Regions from separate parts of the Homo sapiens genome. Here regions 2 and 3 are each linked to region 1. The links are contacts of gene promoters, found by promoter capture Hi-C in blood cells and fetal thymus (Javierre and others, 2016). All regions are on one chromosome and are shown on one strand. The core of a region is centred on a gene start or on the middle of the fragment in contact, and the rest is flanking DNA. Distances in the headings are between cores, read along the strand shown. Region 1 holds the start of PICALM (phosphatidylinositol binding clathrin assembly protein). Region 2 overlaps RAB30-DT (RAB30 divergent transcript). Region 3 overlaps LOC101929174 (a long non-coding RNA gene).

Region 1 (2,615 bases), core at 63-2,562:
AACTGATAAGAGTATCAGCAAAATGCCTTTTTCCATATCCCCATGTGAAAAGCTGGGGGGCAGAGCTGACAGTCACAAACTCACCCCAGTCAAAAGTATGGACAACACAACGATTAAATTCCACCAGAGGCAAATAAAAATCCCAACTTTCCAGAAAGCTTTCCCTACACCAAATTGAATCCTTTTACTTTCACTCCCACAAAGAAGGTAATCTGAAATAAAAGTCGGGTAACTGGGTATGGTATTTAAAATGAGTCGAAGAAACTACACTGAAGCTACTATAGAGGCGATGAAAAGGTAACCCAAAAGCAGGAGGGAAGGTGGAACAGAAAGCCAGGAAGGGATGGGCGAAGCAGCTAGTGGAGCAAAGGAAGTGGGGGATCCCTTCCAGGGAGGCAGCCCGGAGGGATAACAAGGATCTGGATGCAAGGAACCAGGCGTTTACTGAAACCCGAAGGAGGCTGATGAAGAAACAATGGGGCTTGGAGACGCTCAGACGAGGGCGACGAGGCGGCACCGGACGGGTGGGAAGGAAGAGCAGAAGGCTGCAGTGGAGACGGGTAGGGGGTGAGAAGCCAGGTGGGGAAGCAAGTTGGTTGGGTATGATGGGGTGTGGTAGCGCACCGGGCAGGGAGACGAGGGTCCCCTAGGAATAGGGAGGGGAGTGGCTTGTCAGATTTTGAGACGGGGAGCGGAGGCCGTGAAGGCAGGTGTGATGGAAGCAAAAGAACACAGCTCAACGGGCACAGGACCGGCCGTGCCAGAGAAGACGCAGGGAGGGAAGAGGCAGTAGAAGGGTGAAAGACAAGAGAGAGAGAGAAGGACGCGCGCGGGTCGCGCGGGCGCCGGGGAGCGGGGGCCGCGGTCGGCTTCACTCACAGTCCAGGTGCTTTTTCTTGGGCCCCATGATCTCGTGGGTCGTGGCCTTGCATACTGTCTTGGATACGGCAGAGCCGGTGACACTGTGCTGGGCGGCAGTGATTCGGTCCGTCAGGCTCTGGCCGGACATCTCTGCAGCTCCTCCACCACCCCACCCGCTCAGCAGCCGGCGGGGACTGGGACCCCCAAGAGCCGGAGGGTCCCCACCCCCCACCGCACCCCCTACCCCCACCGGCTCCTTCCCCGCCTGCCGGCCTGGGGCGCGGTTCGGGGCCGCGCGCTGCCACCAGTCCAGAGAGAACCGGCTCGTGTCACCCGCGGAGTCGGACAAGATGTCGGGCACTCCCTTGCCCCCGCCTCAGTTCAGCCCACCCCTTCCCGGGTCAGCTGGAGCCGGGCAGGGTAAGAGGAACAGGCAGCTGCAGGAAAATGGCGGCGCCAGGCTCCTCCTCGGAGCTTTCCGGGCTGCCCCGGGTCACGTGACTCGGACACCGCCCCTCCTCCCTTCTCCCGCCCCTTTCCCCTTCCCTTTCCTCTTCGACGCCCGCCCTCCCTCGCTCAGCGAGGGAAGAGCTGGGCGGCGCCCGCGCGTTACGTGATGGAACTCGCCAGGCGGGCGCAACAGGAGGCCCGCCCGAGGGGAGTGCACAGCCGGCGCATCACGTGACTCTCCCTGCCAACAGGTCGCCTGAGGCTCGGCCCGCGGGGTCACAGACGCCGGGCGGGGCGGGGCGGGAGAGGAATGGCGAGGGCGGTGTGCTGGCGGGGGTGGGGCGGGGCGGCAGGCTTCTCCCCTTATCCCCCCACCTCAAGTGTGTCCTCGTGTCTGTGGTTGAAACCAACAGCTTGACAAAGGAGGTGCAGCTGCCTTCACAGCTTCCCCTGAAGTGGGGGGTATTAGGCCTCTGGCTCCCCGAGCTTTCCCAGCAGAGTCAAGAATGTATTTCAAGACGCCTCCCAAAGCCGCCCTCCTGGCTTAAAGGAGAAGGTTCCAAACGGCCTATTTTCTGAACCTTCCAGCAGGCCTCTCTCTACCATGGAACTATTGAAGCTCTCCTTATTTACTTACCCCAGAAAGGTTTTTTCCCCCCTTTCCTTGAGAGGCTTGGAAATGTCACCTGGTTTTGTTTATCTCTACTCCGAAAACCCGACACGTTGCTGCCATTCTAAATTTAGATACTAGCTGGCCGGTATTCATTCTCTAGGGTGTGGAATAGGACAGGAAACACATAGCTTCACTGGAATTTGAAAAGGGAAGTAGTAGGATGATGTCAACAGCGATTAGCTTGACCCTACATGGCTGACTGCTGTGGTGATTAAAGGTCCAGACCATAGAAGGAAGTGAGAGGGGCGGTAAATGGAGAAGTCCCATTCAAACAGTCCAGACATCACTGCCTGCCATCTCCCCTGGTTTAGTCTTTCTTACCTTTGGCCTCTTTTCTCTTATTGGGTGAGCCAGATTTCCATGGAAAGACGTTGACACTGCCCTGTGGACATTTTAAAAGAAGTATTACATCCTGAAATACTATTCAATGAGACCCAGACCATACATTAACAAAGCCTTTTATATGTTATTAGAGCCTCTACATTCAACCCAGGGTTAGGGATAAGTTGAAAAATATGTGAGTGCTAAGTTACCATGATAGTCACATGTAATCTTGCTAGTTTCAAATGAAATGCTAACATTCTCAGAAAGTCTGTGTACACCATCTGCCAGCCAAATCCAAAATACTGTG
Region 2 (2,500 bases), core at 1-2,500, 3.0 Mb before region 1:
ACCAGCGAAAGCAGATGTTCAAAGGGGATATTGGCCAGGTGCGGTCGCTCACGCCTTTAATCCCAGCACTTTGGGGGCAGACGCGGGGAGATAGCGTGATTCTAGGAGTTCAACCCCAGCCTGGGCAACATGCGGAGACCCCGTACCGTCTCTACAAAAACATTAAACAAAAAAATTAGCTGGGCATGGTGGTGTACCCCTGTAGTTGCAGCTACACTAGAGGCTGAGGTGGGAGGATCGCTTGAGCCCGGGATGTTGAGGCTGCAGTGAGCCTCGATCCTACCACTGTGCTCCAGCCTGGGCGACAGCAAGCCCGTGTCTCAGAAAAGGCGGGAGGGGTGGGATATTATTGATGATAGGCCTTCTGACGTCTGGCAATAGATTCCAGAGTAACATCGGTCATGGATAAATTTTTTTTTTAACTAAGTGACTGAAACCAAAGTTAATTGTCTTTTGAGTGATTTTGCACAGTATCTCAAAATGAACTGTACTTTTTTTCTTGTGTCACTGAAACAGTGCTGTGTGTTCTTTTTCAGAGTCTGTCACACTAAGATGAGAAATGTCCTTTCTTCCTGAAGGTGTCTGATGTGTAAAAATATGATATACTTTGTGCTGTTTCCTCCCTTCCCTTTTGCATATTATTCTGAAACAACATTAACTAGTTACTTTGCGTCATTGAAGGTATGCACTTCCCCTCTATGTTAGGAGTGAATAAAATTAAAAATAGATCCTTATAACAAAGAAAGGCAGATAGAATGATTAAAAATGACCAAAACATGTTAGAAACAGTCTCTCAGGTGTATGCAGATGGTAATTACAAAAATACTTTTTCAAAAAATGATCTTCTGTGTCATGTTTCTGGGAACAAGTCAAGATGAATGAGTTTGATTTTTAAGCAGAAGTAGTATGTGTTGGTGTCATCCATGAATACAACAATGAAAAAGGCTCAAAGTTGTTGTTATTCAGAAACTTCTCTAAGTAATGGTGGTAAGTACAGGAAAAGGAGCAATGTCTACCATTTTCTTTCTAACCTTCGATTTAACTATTGTAATGTTGTAAGCTTAACAGAGACTTACACTTAGGCTTAATTTCAAGCTCTTCAATCATTTTTCCCGGTTGGTGATTCAGGTGTATTCTCATGTCTTATGTAAACTTATCATGAGTGTTGTTGATTTATAATATATTTCTTTATGTAAGCCATAGCCTTGTCAGTTTGAGTTATATGGAAGACAAATTGTAGGGAAAAAGAGCAACAGATTACTCAGAAACCTTCTGTGTGAGCTGGGCATAGTAGTGCATGCCAGTAGGCTTAGCTACTTGGGAGGCTGAGGCAGGAGGATCACTTGATCCCATTAGTTTGAGGCTGCAGTGAGCTATGATTGTGTCACTGTACTCCAATCTGGACAACAGTGAGACTATGTCTGTTTTTAAAAAAGAAAGAAAGCTTGTGTTTGAGAAGTGATACCTCTAGAATACAGTGATTTCTATAATTTGTCATGTGTTTGGGTAGTTTGAAGTTTTTCTATCCTTGTATCTAATGGACATCTGACCATAAAGATGAAAAAATCCTGCACTCATTATAAATTTTATTTATAAAATTGATATTTGAGGAGTTGGGGAGGCCAGCTTCTGAAAAAATAACAGTGTCCCATAGAAACACCACAACTTAGGAAAATATTGTTAAAGTGGAATTAGGAATATCTAGAGGAGGTAAAGCTTTTCATCTCTCAAAAAAGAATTAGGGCCAGGCACAGTGGCTGACACCTGTAATCCTAGCACTTTGGGAGGCCGAGATGGGCACATCACTTGGGGCCAGGAGTTCAAGACCAGCCTGGCCAACATGGCGAAACCCCATCTCCAAGAAATAGAAAAGTTAGCCAGGTGTGGTGGCGTGCGCCTGTAATACCAGCTACTAGGGTGGCTGAGGCAGGAGAATCGCTTGAACTGGGGAGGTGGAGGTGGCAGTGAGCAGAGATTGAGCCACTGTACTCCAGCCTGGGCAACAGCAAGACCCTATCTCAAAAAAATAATAAAGAGAATTAGGACATGGATTTGTATTAAAATTATAGGTAGCTCATTTAAGAGTATGAAGCCAATTGCTGTTAGAGCAAGGGTTTTTTTCAGTAGAGGTGTCAGGATAACCTATACAGCTCTAAAAGTATATGGCTGTTACCTTCCCATCCCTGTTGAAATCTCCAGGGTTAGAACCAAGTATTGTGTTTTTAAAACTATAGGTGAGTCTACAAGAGTTGGGTGGAGTAGTCCTCTACATCCTGTGTTTGTATTTTTGCAGTAAGTCACACAATAACAAAAGCTTTGAGAAAGATTTTAGGTTTATTGCTAATTATACCCATGAATGAATTCTGAAAATGTGTAGATAAGGAATTTACCTGGTGAACGGTTTACACATGGCAATTGTGGGAGGGAGAGGGGAGTGAGAGGAGATGAGATCAGTTTTAGCTTTAAGAGGACCAACCGGGCCAAGCACGGTGGCTCACGC
Region 3 (2,615 bases), core at 69-2,568, 2.3 Mb after region 1:
TTTCTGAAATGAAATTAATATATAAACTGCTTACACACTTAATAAAAAGAAATGTAATGCCAAATGTAATATAAAGAAGAAATCAGATATTTTAAATATATTTCTAGTATAATAAGTTATATCCCATCATGTAAAATGTTCAAGTATGACTGTGTTGGAAAACATAATGAGGCACTCAGATACTTGCTCTTCACACTTCTGTAACCACCCAATGGATTCACCTGGCCTGCTGCCTAGACAGAGCCAATTTATCAAGACAGGGGAATTGCAATGGAGGAAGAGTAATTCATACAGAGCCGGCTGTGGGGGAGACGGGAGTTTTATTATCACTCAAATCAGTCTCCCCGAGCATTCAGGGATCAGAGTTTTCAAAGATAATTTGGTGGGTAGGGGCTTGGGAAGTGGGGAGTGCTGATTGGTTAGGTTGGAGATGGAATCATAGGGGGTCTAAGTGAGTTTTTCTTGCTATCTTCTGTTCCTGGGTGGGATGGCAGATATGGTTGAGCCAGATTGCTGGTCTCAGTGGTGTCAGCTGATCTATGGAGTGCAGGGTCTGTAAAATATCTCAAGCACTGATCTTAGATTTTACAATAGAGATGTTATCCCCAGAAGCAACTTGGAGGGTGGGAGGGTGCAGACTCTTGGAGCCAGAGGCCACATGACCCCTAAACTGTAATTTCTAATCTTGTAGCTAATTTGTTAGTCCTGCGAAGGCAGACTGGTCCCCAGGCAAGAAGGGAGTCTTTTTGGGAAAGGGCTATTATCAATTTTGTTTCAGAGTCAAACCATGAACTGAATTACTTCCCAAAGTTTGTTCCACCTATGCCCAGGAATGAAAAAGGACAGCTTAAAGATTAGAAGCAAGATGGAGTCGATTAGGTCTGATTTCTTTCACAGTTGTAATTTTTGCAAAGGTGGTTTCACTTCTATGTAAAATTGTAGAATCGTGGTAAATGTGATAGGAACTTTTTTCTGAGAGCACAAATGATTTCTGATGAGTTATAACTCAAATACCTTATCAATTAATCACTCAAACACCATACCAAAGTTGTTGATGTTGGACAATTCTTGGTCAAATTCCCAGGAGAACAAAGTAGAATTTTCTGTTGAAGGTTTATCAAGAGGTTGCATTCCCAAAAATTCAGTATATGTTAAAATTATATAAAACAAAAGTGAGCTTATGTGCAAAACATGGTCTGTCAGTAGGCTCCCATCATTAAAAGCAGGTTTACAGAGAGGCAGCATTACTTGGCAGTGGTTCTCAAAGTGTAGCCTAGGACCAGGGACATCAGCATCTGTCTTAGTCTGTTTTCTGTTGCTAGAACTGTACCTGAGACTCGGTAATTTAAAACAAAGAAAATTATTTTTTATAGTTCTAGAGACAGGTAAGTCCAAGGTCAAGAGGCCCCATCGAAGGGGGCCCTTCTTGCTGGTTGAGACTCTTTGCAGAATCCCAAGGTAGTACAGGGTATCACGTGGCAAAGGGGGTCATGAGAGATGGCCAAACTAGTGCTTATTACAGACCCACCCTCATGATAACTAATCCTTGATAATTCCATAATCCATTAATCTATTAACCCATGATAGATTCATCCATTCATGAGGGCACTGCCAATCACTTCTCAAAGGTCCCACCTCTCGACACATGACTTTTGGGGGACAACCTATGTTCAAACCACAGCATTCTGTCCCTGACCCCCAGAATTCATGGCCTTCTCACAATTCAAAATACAGTCATTCCATCCTAGTAGTCCCAAAAGACTGAATTTGTTCCAGCACCAACTCAAAAGTCTAAAGTGTCATCTGGGAGTTTGTGAAATCAAAACAAGTTATCTACTTCCTAGATACAATGGTGGGACAGGTATAAGGTATACACTCCCTTTCCAAAAGAGACAAACAGGCCAGAAGAAAGAAGTAACAGGCCCAAGCAAGTCAAAAACTCAGCAGAGAAGACTTAAATTTTAAGGCTGGAGAATAATCTTTCTTGATTCCATGTACAGCATCTTGTGCACATTGGGGGATGGGGTATTTCAGGAGGCCTCAAGGCACCCTGGTGCCCTCAGCTTTCCCAGGCAGGTATTGCATGCTGCTGGTGGCTCTACTGTTCTGGGGTCCTGGTGGCAGTCTGGCTCTTACAGCTGCATTAGGCATTGCCCTTAGGGGGGCTCTATGCAACAACCCCAGTTCCACTGTTCCACTTCGTATTGCCCTAGTGGAAGCTCTCTGCAGTAGCTCTACCCTCAGACAGTCCAACACATTCTTCAAAATCTAGGTGGAGGCTGCCAGGCCTCCACAGCTCTTGCATTCTATGCACCTGCAGAATTAGTACCACATGGATACTGCCATGGTTTACCACTTGTACATCCTAGAGCTGCAGGTTAATCTGCACCTGTGGCTGCTTGAACCACAGCTGGGGGCGCTGAGGAGCAGTGTGCTGGAACGCAGGGAGTAGAGACCCAAAGCAGCCCTGGGCAGCAGTCCATCCCCGGAATTATTCTGCCCTCTTAGAGCTCAGGGCCTATGAGGAAGGGGCAGCCTCAAAGATCCCAGAAATGCCTCTGGGGTTTTTAATTTCATTGTCATGGATAGCCTTTGGCTTCATTCTATCCATGGTG

The links. The method cuts DNA at HindIII sites, captures the fragments that hold promoters and counts their contacts. A CHiCAGO score of 5 or more calls a contact.
Region 2: a contact is called between a fragment that was not itself captured here and the fragment with the promoter of PICALM in region 1, in 1 of 17 cell types (total B cells). The highest score is 5.3, in total B cells.
Region 3: a fragment that was not itself captured here is called in contact with the fragment with the promoter of PICALM in region 1 in 1 of 17 cell types (neutrophils); the score reaches 5.6 in neutrophils.

What each region holds. Positions count from the first base shown.
Region 1 is chr11:86,067,772-86,070,386 of GRCh38, forward strand. PICALM (phosphatidylinositol binding clathrin assembly protein) reads right to left here and starts at 1,313. Exons shown (of 20, transcript NM_007166.4): 1 at 880-1,313. The coding sequence starts at 1,009. It overlaps LOC124902731 (a long non-coding RNA gene), which reads left to right and starts at 2,153. Exons shown (of 2, transcript XR_007062823.1): 1 at 2,153-2,615. RefSeq lists enhancers at 1-661, 662-1,363, 1,103-2,302 and silencers at 928-977, 1,048-1,097, 1,238-1,407, 1,558-1,827. The HindIII fragment of the contact is 7,123 bases long and covers 157-2,615 here.
Region 2 is chr11:83,072,767-83,075,266 of GRCh38, forward strand. It overlaps RAB30-DT (RAB30 divergent transcript), which reads left to right. Exons shown (of 3, transcript NR_038903.1): 2 at 1-38; 3 at 537-946. The region is part of intron 2 of LINC02951 (long intergenic non-protein coding RNA 2951); the gene reads right to left. Among named protein-coding and RNA genes, the nearest start is that of RAB30-DT, 2.0 kb to the left of the region's middle. The HindIII fragment of the contact is 384 bases long and covers 1,059-1,442 here.
Region 3 is chr11:88,339,682-88,342,296 of GRCh38, forward strand. All of the region lies in intron 1 of LOC101929174 (a long non-coding RNA gene), which reads left to right. Among named protein-coding and RNA genes, the nearest start is that of CTSC, 3.3 kb to the left of the region's middle. The HindIII fragment of the contact is 3,535 bases long and covers 1-2,615 here.